Regions from separate parts of the Homo sapiens genome. Here all the other regions are linked to region 1. The links are contacts of gene promoters, found by promoter capture Hi-C in human tissues and cell types (Jung and others, 2019). All regions are on one chromosome and are shown on one strand. Each heading gives the region's core, a stretch centred on a gene start or on the middle of the fragment in contact. The rest is flanking DNA. Distances are from core to core; before and after follow the strand shown. Region 1 holds the start of GTPBP4 (GTP binding protein 4). Region 2 overlaps DIP2C (disco interacting protein 2 homolog C). Region 3 overlaps DIP2C (disco interacting protein 2 homolog C).

What was found. The method cuts DNA at HindIII sites, captures the fragments that hold promoters and counts their contacts. A contact is called where the count stands out against the background at its distance.
Region 2: a contact is called between a fragment that was not itself captured here and the fragment with the promoter of GTPBP4 in region 1, in 1 of the 25 tissues and cell types used here (dorsolateral prefrontal cortex).
Region 3: a contact is called between a fragment that was not itself captured here and the fragment with the promoter of GTPBP4 in region 1, in 1 of the 25 tissues and cell types used here (dorsolateral prefrontal cortex).

What each region holds. Positions count from the first base shown.
Region 1 is chr10:986,954-990,044 of GRCh38, reverse strand. It overlaps GTPBP4 (GTP binding protein 4), which reads right to left and starts at 1,611. Exons shown (of 17, transcript NM_012341.3): 1 at 1,518-1,611. The coding sequence starts at 1,565. It also overlaps a transcript of LARP4B not described here. The HindIII fragment of the contact is 8,297 bases long and covers 1-3,091 here.
Region 2 is chr10:540,251-543,341 of GRCh38, reverse strand. The region is part of intron 1 of DIP2C (disco interacting protein 2 homolog C); the gene reads left to right. Among named protein-coding and RNA genes, the nearest start is that of DIP2C-AS2, 87 kb to the left of the region's middle. RefSeq lists an enhancer at 1,102-1,602. The HindIII fragment of the contact is 5,024 bases long and covers 1-3,091 here.
Region 3 is chr10:595,387-598,477 of GRCh38, reverse strand. The region is part of intron 1 of DIP2C (disco interacting protein 2 homolog C); the gene reads left to right. Among named protein-coding and RNA genes, the nearest start is that of DIP2C-AS2, 32 kb to the left of the region's middle. The HindIII fragment of the contact is 4,963 bases long and covers 1-3,091 here.

The DNA.
Region 1 (3,091 bases), core at 362-2,861:
TACAATCTGGCTGGGCACAGTAGCTCATGCCTGTAATCCTAACACTTTGGGAGGCTGAGGCAAGTGAATCACTTGAGATTAGGAGTTCAAGACCAGTCTGGCCAACATGGTGAAACTCCACTTCTACTGAAAATACAAAAATTAGCCAGGCCTGGTGGCGCATGCCTGTAGTCCCAGCTACTCGGGAGGCTGAGGCAGGAAAATCACTTGAACCTGGGAGGCGGTGGCTGCAGTCAGGATCACACCACTGCGCTCCAACCTGGCCAACAGAGCGAGACTCCATCTCAAAAAGAAAGAAAGAAAATACTACAATCGATCAAGAGATGTGCCAGAACAACTGTCAGGAAGAAATAAGAAATGGTGGAGAGAAGTGGGGAAACAACTTTTGCTATGAAGGTAAAATACGAGACTCCCACAAAGCTTTCCAAGGCAAGCTCATCCCGTCCTTGAGACCTGAAGAAAAGGAGGCACTGACGAGGGGAAAACAGTCACTCTGCAGGGACTTCAGTAACTCCCTCTCGTGCAGGAGTCCCTGGGAGGCTCCAGTTGCCCGTCAATGTCTGTGTAATTGCGACCCAAATCGAATGTTCACTACATAAAAACGTGACTTCTTAAAAGTCCTAATACTAGGGCCGGGCGCAGTGGCTCACGCCTGTAATTCCAGCACTTTGGGAGGCCGGGGCGGGAGGATCACCCGGGATCAGGAGTTCGAGGCCAGCTTGGCCAACGTGGTGAAACCCCGTCTCTACTAAAAATACGAAAATTAGCTGGGTGTGGTGGTGCACGACTGTAATCCCTGTTACTCGGGAGGCTGAAGCAGGAGAATCGCTTGAACGCGGGAGGTGGAGGTTGCAGTGAGCCGAGACTGCGCTCCAGCCTGGGAAACAAGAGCGAAAAACTATGTCTCAAAAAAAAAAAAAAAAAAAAAAAGTCCTAATACTCAACACTTGTTGACTCATTCTTGCCACACCAACCAACGCTGTAAAAATTTAGTCTGGGCCTACTATGGTCTGAAAAGGAACAGGTATTCCCAAATCTAACAGTGAAAGAGAATGACTTAAAAATTATGAAACGTTAAATCACGAGAACAACGAACCCAGGATTCCTGAGAGGGGAGGGGGCTACGCCAAACCCAGAATCCGAAGGCTCATCACGGACCACGGAACGCTTCCTCCCTCACATGTCGGGGTCCCCCTCCACTCGCCCACATCGTCACCCGGGGCCCCTCCAGGGAACCCAACTCTGGGTGTACCCCCATCTCTGGGGGCCCTCAGTCTTTGGGTGGACCACGGTCTTAGGTGGACCCCGGTCTCTGGGGGATCCGATCTCTGGTGGACCCCGGATTCTGCTGGGGGAGGGGAAATGATCCCGAGTACGCGGCCAGACGGTCAGGCCCAGGAGCGGGGGATGGGCGAGCGGAAGGCGACCGCTCTCCCACGGCTACAGGCCCGGACCCTCCCCGGGGACCCAGCTGAGGAGAACGCGAAAGTTGCAGTGGCCCTCCCGGGGCCGCCTACCTTGGCGGACGGCACCACCGTAATTTTCTTGAAGTTGTAATGTGCCATGCCGGCAGCCGTATGCACGCGGGTACTTGGCACTCCCGGAACTTCCGCCGTCGGGCGCAGGTGGGACTTCCACTGTCGGGCGGTTGAGGTACGTCACTTCCGGGAGCTCAGCCAATCGTGTTCTGCGTGCTCTACGGCGCTTTCCGCGTCGCACAGCGCACCCGCCCGGCTTGGAGGTCAGCCACGGAGGGCGTGTGAGGGCCTCAGGAGCGAGGGTACAGAGGAGAGGACGCCCGGGTTTTAGGGGGAGCGCGGAGACTAAATTCCTGCTGAGTAAAGCGGGGGTTTCCGACAGACTGCCCTGCGGGTTTCTGGAGCGGGTTCAGGCCCCCAGCCACGCGCCCTGGGCCAGGGTTGGAGGGTCCGGGGTCTTGGGATTTGGGAGTTGCGGGGCTTAGGAGTCCAGAGGGTCTAGGGGATCCGGGAGTCTGGGGGTCCTGGGTCGCGGCGAGCCCCGCAAAGGAGGAGGAAGCCGCGCGTGCGGGGCGTGCCCAGCCTCTGGGTGTGGAGCAGATGACGCCCCTACCCCGGCCTCGCGCGTGGGACTTGATCCCGGGCCGTGGTGAGGAGGCCCTCGCGGCTTCCCTGCAGCCCTGCTTTCTCGTGCTTGTTAAATCCCAAAACGGGCGGAGAAGGGAAAGCCTGATCTAAGGCAAAAGAGGTGCAGCTGGTTCCGCGCAGTGCCTTAGGAGAGCCCAGGGAACAGTTGCGAGAGACAGTCCTGTGGGGTCCAACTGAGGAGAAGGTTGATGAGGATGGAGCCTTTACTGCTTTTATGTTTGTGAATAGAGTGGCCGCTCCCTTTGGGAACCCAGGGCCACATCCCTTAAATTAAACGTTAGGTAGGGCTGACTCAGTCAAGCAGTGTTCAGAGCTGCTGACTATATATTAACTCGTTTAATTTCTGCAACAGCCTCATGAAGTGCATGGGGAAACAAAGGCACACAAGGCTCGAAAGCACCCCGTGGTTGTGCAGCTGACAAGCTAACAGGCAGCAGAGGTGGGCTTTGAACCCAGGCAGCCTGGCTCCAGCAAACCTGCTTCTAACCATTAGCTATACTGCTTCTCACGCATCTGGGATGCCCCCCACTCTCCAATCCTTTTAAACAAGTCCTATTATTCTTACGCGAAAATACCTCTCATAAATTCCCAGCATTCCAATATTGAAAATCATTCTGGGTCATGCTTTTCTCATCTATTAACTATGCTTCCATTTTTGTGTCACAAGGCGGATAAGCATACCTCCTACATCTTTGTGGCACTTCTAAAGGAAGCTTCTAGGGTAATTAGGATTTGCTGGCTATGATCATTTGCTAAACCACAGGACAGTTCTGGCCACCATTTCCGAGATTAGCAAAGCTATGCTCATACTTATTGCCCTTTCTTTTAGGTTCTTGTATGTTTCCTCAACCTCTCCCACTTTCTCTCACTCTGATATAGCCAGTTCCTCTTTTTCTTGTAATCCGGTATTTAGATAAGTCCAGTCAATACTTTGCTTCAGATGGGCAAACATCCTTTCTTTAATT
Region 2 (3,091 bases), core at 402-2,901, 450 kb after region 1:
GTGTGGTGTCTGTGTACGTTCTCGCTACTGAAATCAGTGATGGCACCTGCACAGACACTTGCCCGGAAATGCGCACAAAGCTGGTGAAGGCAGAGGACAGGCGAGTGGGAAGCATGGTTCAGCCCTTGCAAAGGAGACGGTTATTCCTAACGCAGAAGATTCAGGAACACGATCCTTGCGAAGACTGGTGATGTCCATGGATCTCACTGCTGTCCAGTTGTATCTGTGCAGCGAGTTACCAAAGCTGCCAGAGCCGCATGTGTTGGTATCGGTGTCATCATCATCACTCAATGTTTCTGACTTTTGGTATTGGTGTCATCGTCATCACTCAATGTTTGACTTTTCCTGGTGCTGAGGATGACTGCATGTGGCAGAAGCAAAGTGCTGGGCTTAGAAAAGAACTAGAATCTGATGATCTGTGGTATATAGAGAGGCAGGGTCAGAACCCCCCACTCCCCAATCCCGTAAGAACTGGGATCTGATGATCTGTGGTATAGAGAAGGGGGGAGGGTCAGAACCCCCCACTCCCCAATCTGATAAGAACTGGGATCTGGTGACCTGTGGTATAGAGAGGGACAAGGTCAGAACCCCCCACTCCCCAATCCGATAAGAACTGGGATCTGATGACCTGTGGTATAGAGAGGGACAGGGTCAGAACCCCCCACTTCCCAATCTGATAAGAACTGGGATCTGATGATCTGTGGTATAGAGAGGGGCAGGGTTAGAACCCTCCATTCCCCAATCCGATTGTTGAAGAAATAGTTGGCTTGGGAGGGTTTTTACTCTGAAGGTTGAAGCTGTGCATTTCTGGAGCCTGGGCTGTCGGCCGTAGTGGCTGGGGAATGCTGGGGCTGTGGTCGTCTGGCCGCTGGCAGTCCTGCTGGTGGGTCCTGCCTCTTTGACACCGTTCCTTTCTGAAGCTTGTTTTCCCCAGTGTTGGAAGTAGCAGCACTGGAGGAATGGCCTTCTTCCTACAGCAAAGCTCTGCCAGGAGAGGAGGAGAAGACATAGAGCATCTGTTGAGGGACATGACGTTCTGGGCACTGCACCATGCTTTCTGCTTCTCAGCAGTGCCTCCTGGTTGATGTTACCGTCACCTGGCATCGCCCAGGAGGTAACTCGCAGAGGCAGGCAGGGAGCAGAAGGAGCTCAGGAGGGAGTGAGCCGTCACAGGGTGGGGGAGGTTCAGGAGCCAGCAGGCAAGTGGGATGTGGCCTCAAGGTGTTGCTGGGTTGGTGAGGGGTCTTCTGGGACTTTTCTGAGAGTGCAGTCAGTTGTAGGGGTGGGTGCCGGCTCCCGCAGATAGAAGAGCCAAGTGTGCAGGAGACCAACGTGTGCACTGGGAGTCCCCAGGGGCGTGTCCTGGCACGCGGCCCAGAGGCCCCTGACAAGGCTCAGTGCACCAGGCACACAGCGGATTGTTGGTGCTTGACCCGACGAGAAGGTGAGGAAGTGAGGTGAGGGGGGCCGAGAGACAGGTGCAGGGATGCACTAGACAGGGTGCAGTCAGGTGGAGGGTCATGCTGTGGGGTCTAGGAGAGACAGGTGTGGTCAGGTGAAGGGTCACGCTGTGGGGTCCAGGAGAGATGGGTGTGGTCAGTGTGGAGGGTCATGCTGTGGGATCCAGGAGAGATGGGGGTGGTCAGGTGGAGGGTCACTCTTGGGGTTCCAGGAGAGACGGGTGTGGTCGGGTGGAGGGTCACGCTGTGGGGTCCAGGAGAGATGGGTGTGGTCATGTGGAGGGTCACGCTGTGGGATCCAGGAGAGATGGGGGTGTTCAGGTGGAGGGTCACACTGTGGGGTCGAGGAGAGATGGGTGTGGTCAGTGTGGAGGGTCATGCTGTGGGATCCAGGAGAGATATGGGGGTGGAGGGTCACTCGGGGGGGTCCAGGAGAGACGGGTGTGGTCGGGTGGAGGGTCACGATGTGGGGTGCAGGAGAGATGGGTGTGGTCAGGTGGAAGGTCAAGCTGTGGTGTCTGGGAAATGTGTTTTTGCTTTTGGCTGAGCAGCTGGACCTGAGCATGTCTGTGCTTTGACATTTAACCTGTGCACTGTCCTCGGCAGGGTGTGTGTGTCTGTGACAGAGGACACCTCAGCCAGAGTGGATGTCGGCGGTGGTGGCCGGACTCAGGGTCCATGAATGTTGCGTGGTAGAACGTGTTTGGTACATTCTCAGCTCCTGCCCAGGTGCCTCCCAAGCATCGGGTGTTGTGGCTCCCCAGCATCGGGTGTTGTGGCTCCCCAGCATCGGGTGTTGTGGCTCCCCAGCATCGGGTGTTGTGGCTCCCCAGCATCGGGTGTTGTGGCTCCCCAGCATCGGGTGTTGTGGCTCCCCAGCATCGGGTGTTGTGGCTCCCCACATCCTTCCCCATCTGCGTGTAGCACGACCACCACCTTCCTACCATGTGTTTGTCCTATCACGGCTGCTGTGTCTAATGCATGCTTTGCTTTCCAGCTACTTTACTATAATCAAAACCCTTGAAAGACTTTACCTGTGTTTCAGAGATGACAGGGTATTAGTCTTTCATGATTGCTCTGAGGATTTCCAAAAGCAAATGCACCTTACAGGATGCAAGAAATGGCAGACAGTAATTAGAGATTACTTTTCTCAGTTAGTCTTTTTATTGTGGTAAAATTACATAGCACTGTGACCATTTTTAAGTGTACGATTTGGTGGCATTAAGTGCGTTCACACTGTCATGCCACGATCACCGCCATATTCTTGGTCTCCCCAAGCTTGAAACTTGGTCTACCAAACACTAGCTTTCCTCCTACCCCAGCTCTGGTAAGCACTACAGATTGCTTATAGAATAGGCTTTTTCAGTGAGAGAAGGGGCAAGGAGAAGAGGACTCAAGACTGTCTTGAGATTTGAGGAAGTGTTTTAGGTTTTGCTCTCTGGTTCCCAGTGTAAAGGAACTATTGAAGATGTGGGAAGGTGGAAGCTCTGTGTGATCTCAGGAAGTGCTGGGCCGGGCAGCTTTCCCCCTGTGACGGGGGCACTTGCCCTCAAACACACCTGAGATAATTGTGTGAGGATGGTGCTGCGTTGTGACAGCTCTGAACTTGGTCTCCTTGAAAGTTTCCAAGT
Region 3 (3,091 bases), core at 397-2,896, 390 kb after region 1:
TGACTTTCCCACAGGAAATGCATGTGATGATTGCATGTCGGTTTTGTGGGCTGGCCATATGGATTGAGGGAATGTCCATGTTGTGATTCTTCATTGATTTGAAGGTTGGAAAGGTTTGTGCTCAATGCAGGGGTCTCTTGGTGCGATGGGAAATGTGATCGCAGCTGCCCTCGGGGTGGGAAGAGAGGCCCTTGGTGGCCGGTGCCGGCTTTCACCTTCCTGGGTGAGCTGCCCTTGGGGTGGGGAGGGAGGCCCTCGTGGCCCTTGGTGGTGGCCGGTGCCGGCCTTGGCCTCCCCCAGTGAGTGCTGCTCCATCCCTGGTGTCTCCGACTCTTTGCCTGGCACTTTCCTCGTGGGAGGCCGTGATCCATCAGCCTTGTCCACGCGTGTCCTGCAGACTTGTGCTGACTCTGCAGGTCCAGCGGTGGTTAGAGGAGGCCCTCCTAAACGTTTAATGATGGCGCTGCTGAGTGCATGAAGCCACGTCAGCCCCAGAGTCCAGGTAGGGAACCGTGGGGTAGAGGGAAGAGTGGACAGATGGGTGCTTTCCTTGGCCCCTGGGGGCATGGCCAGGTCCACGTTCAGACCTCCTGGTTTCTCCCGTATTTCCATAAATAGCCAGGAAAGGACTCAGGACCCCTAGGACCTCATGGGTGTAAGCTGTGTCCTCGTGTGGCCCCAGCTGTGGCCAGTGACGTTATTCTCTTTAACCTCAAGCTTATTTTGTATAAAAACATGAAGGGACAGAAGTAGTTCAGGAGCCTCTGAAGACTTACGTAATTGTTAGTAGGCCTACTTTTATGATTTCTTACGTATTAAGAGCAAATCATGAAACAAACTCATTTCTGTTTGAAGGAATCTTTACTGTTCTCATTTTTGTGGCAAGTGACATTGATTCTTTGCATAGTGACAGCGTTAGTGCACTCCTGCCCAGCCCTGCTGCCCAGCGTGTCCTCGGCACACACCTCTGTCCATTGGTCTCCATTCACCAGGTCTCCATTCACCTTTCCACCTAGAATTGTAGGGGGGCACTGGGATATTGGGGCTAGAAGGAAACTCTGAAGACCACTTCTAGGGGCAGCTTAGTCAGGGCTCTCCAGAGAGACAGAGCCAGCCCGGTGTGTGTGTGTCCAGGGGGAGGCTTGCTGCAGGGGCTACGGAGGCCAAGAAGCCCCAGGACCCACTGCCTGCAACCTGGAGGCCTGGGAGGGTGTGGCTCAAAGGCTTGAGAAGCGGAGGGTGCAGATCCCACCCAGGTCTGAGGAGCTGAGACCCAGGAGCACCGGGGGCAGAAGACGGATGCCACTGGCCTGCAGCCAGACAGGTGGAGCGAGCCCAGCCTTCCCCGCCTTGCTGTTTTACTCGAGCCCTGGAGCCCTGGGTGGACAGGGTGGTGCCCCCTACACTGGCGAGGATGGGTCTCCACTTAGTCTCCACTCAGTCCAGAGGCAAACACACATCTCACACAGAAATAATGCAGAACCAGCCACCTGGGCACCCCGGGGCCCACTCAGGTCGATACACAAAACCAATGCCACGTGTGGCCCTCATGTCTGCATGTTCGCGTCACTATGCGCATTGCTCAGTCATCGCCTTGGTGAGCTTGAAAGCTCATTGTGTGGTTCTGGGTGTCTTTGTCCTGGGCAGTGGTGGTGATGACAGGCTCCCCACCACCCCAGCTCAGGCACAGGTGATGCCACCAATGGCTCCTTATTTCTCAGACGCTTGAGCCGGGTGCTCTGTGAAGCCAGTTCCACTTCCCGCAGCATCTGTTCCCTATGCCGATTCCATTCACAGTATGTGCCTTCCTTCCTTGGGGTGCAGCCTTCTGTCAGGGAGGAACTGTGTCCTATTCACCTACGTCTCCTGTGATGTATCTCATGGCTGAATAAGTACCTATAGGATACCTCGGTGGCAGAATGATAGGTTCATTGGAAGGAAAACTTAATACTTTTTTTTTTTTTTTTTTTTTTTTTTTTTTGAGATGGAGTTTCGCACTGGTCGCCCAGGCTGAAGTGCAATGGCATGATCTCGGCTCACTGCAACCTCTCCCTCCCAGGTTCAAGTGATTCTCCTCCTTTAGCCTCCCAAGTAGCTGGGATTACAGGCACCTGCGCCCGGCTAATTTTCGTTAGAGATGGGGTTTCACCATGTTGGCCAGGCTGGTCTTAAAGTCCTGATCTCAGGTGATGCACCCACCTTGGCCACCCAACGTGCTGGGATTACAGGCGTGAGCCACCGCACCCAGCAACTTAATATCATTTTTTATCATTTATAATGGGCTTGTTCAATACTTAGGTTACTTTTATTTTTTAAAACGTTATCTGTGACCTTTCAGCTTTTCATAGCACTTCTCGCGTGAATCTTTAAAAAAGGTCCTTTAGCCGTGGGGAAGGAGTTATCCGTTTGAGCAGAGGGAGGCGGAGGAACAGGCCTTAGTGGGTCTGAGCACAGGCAGTCACCCCAGCCTTGGTGCTTATTTACGTCTGTTTTCCATTCACCATAGCAGTGTCCACTCTTTGTCGGCTTAAAAATAAGCTTTTTCCTCCGCTTTCTAATCAGAACAGTTAGTTTGTTAACCATCCCTTTATCAAGAACGATGGCTGTCAGGCCTCAGATTATGACACAAGTAGTAAGTGCGGCTGACCCTGAACAACATGGGCTTGAGCTTCGAAGGATCATTTACGTTAATTTTTTTTCCCAACCAAACCCTTATTGAAAAAACCTGACTTTGTGGAGGGCCGACATTTCCTACATGCAGCTCCACAGGGTGGGCGCGGGTCCTGCGGACGCGTGGATTTCGGTAAACCCGGGGTGTCCTGGAACCGATGTCCCTGTGTAGATGGAGGGACAACTGGAGCTTTTTAAAAGTTTGTGTCCTGCCTTGTTCTAAAAAGGCTTCAAGGTAGATGCAAAATCATTTCATTCTTTCAGTTCTCTTGGTGGGATATTGATGTTTGTTCTTCAGTGTCTCAAATCCTGAGTGAGAAGAGTTAGTGCTTCAGGGACAAAGCCACAGTCTGGAAACACATATTGAGATACTCACTTTTTCTTCATGGTTTCACAAAAGGTTGTGGTCATATTTTATTCA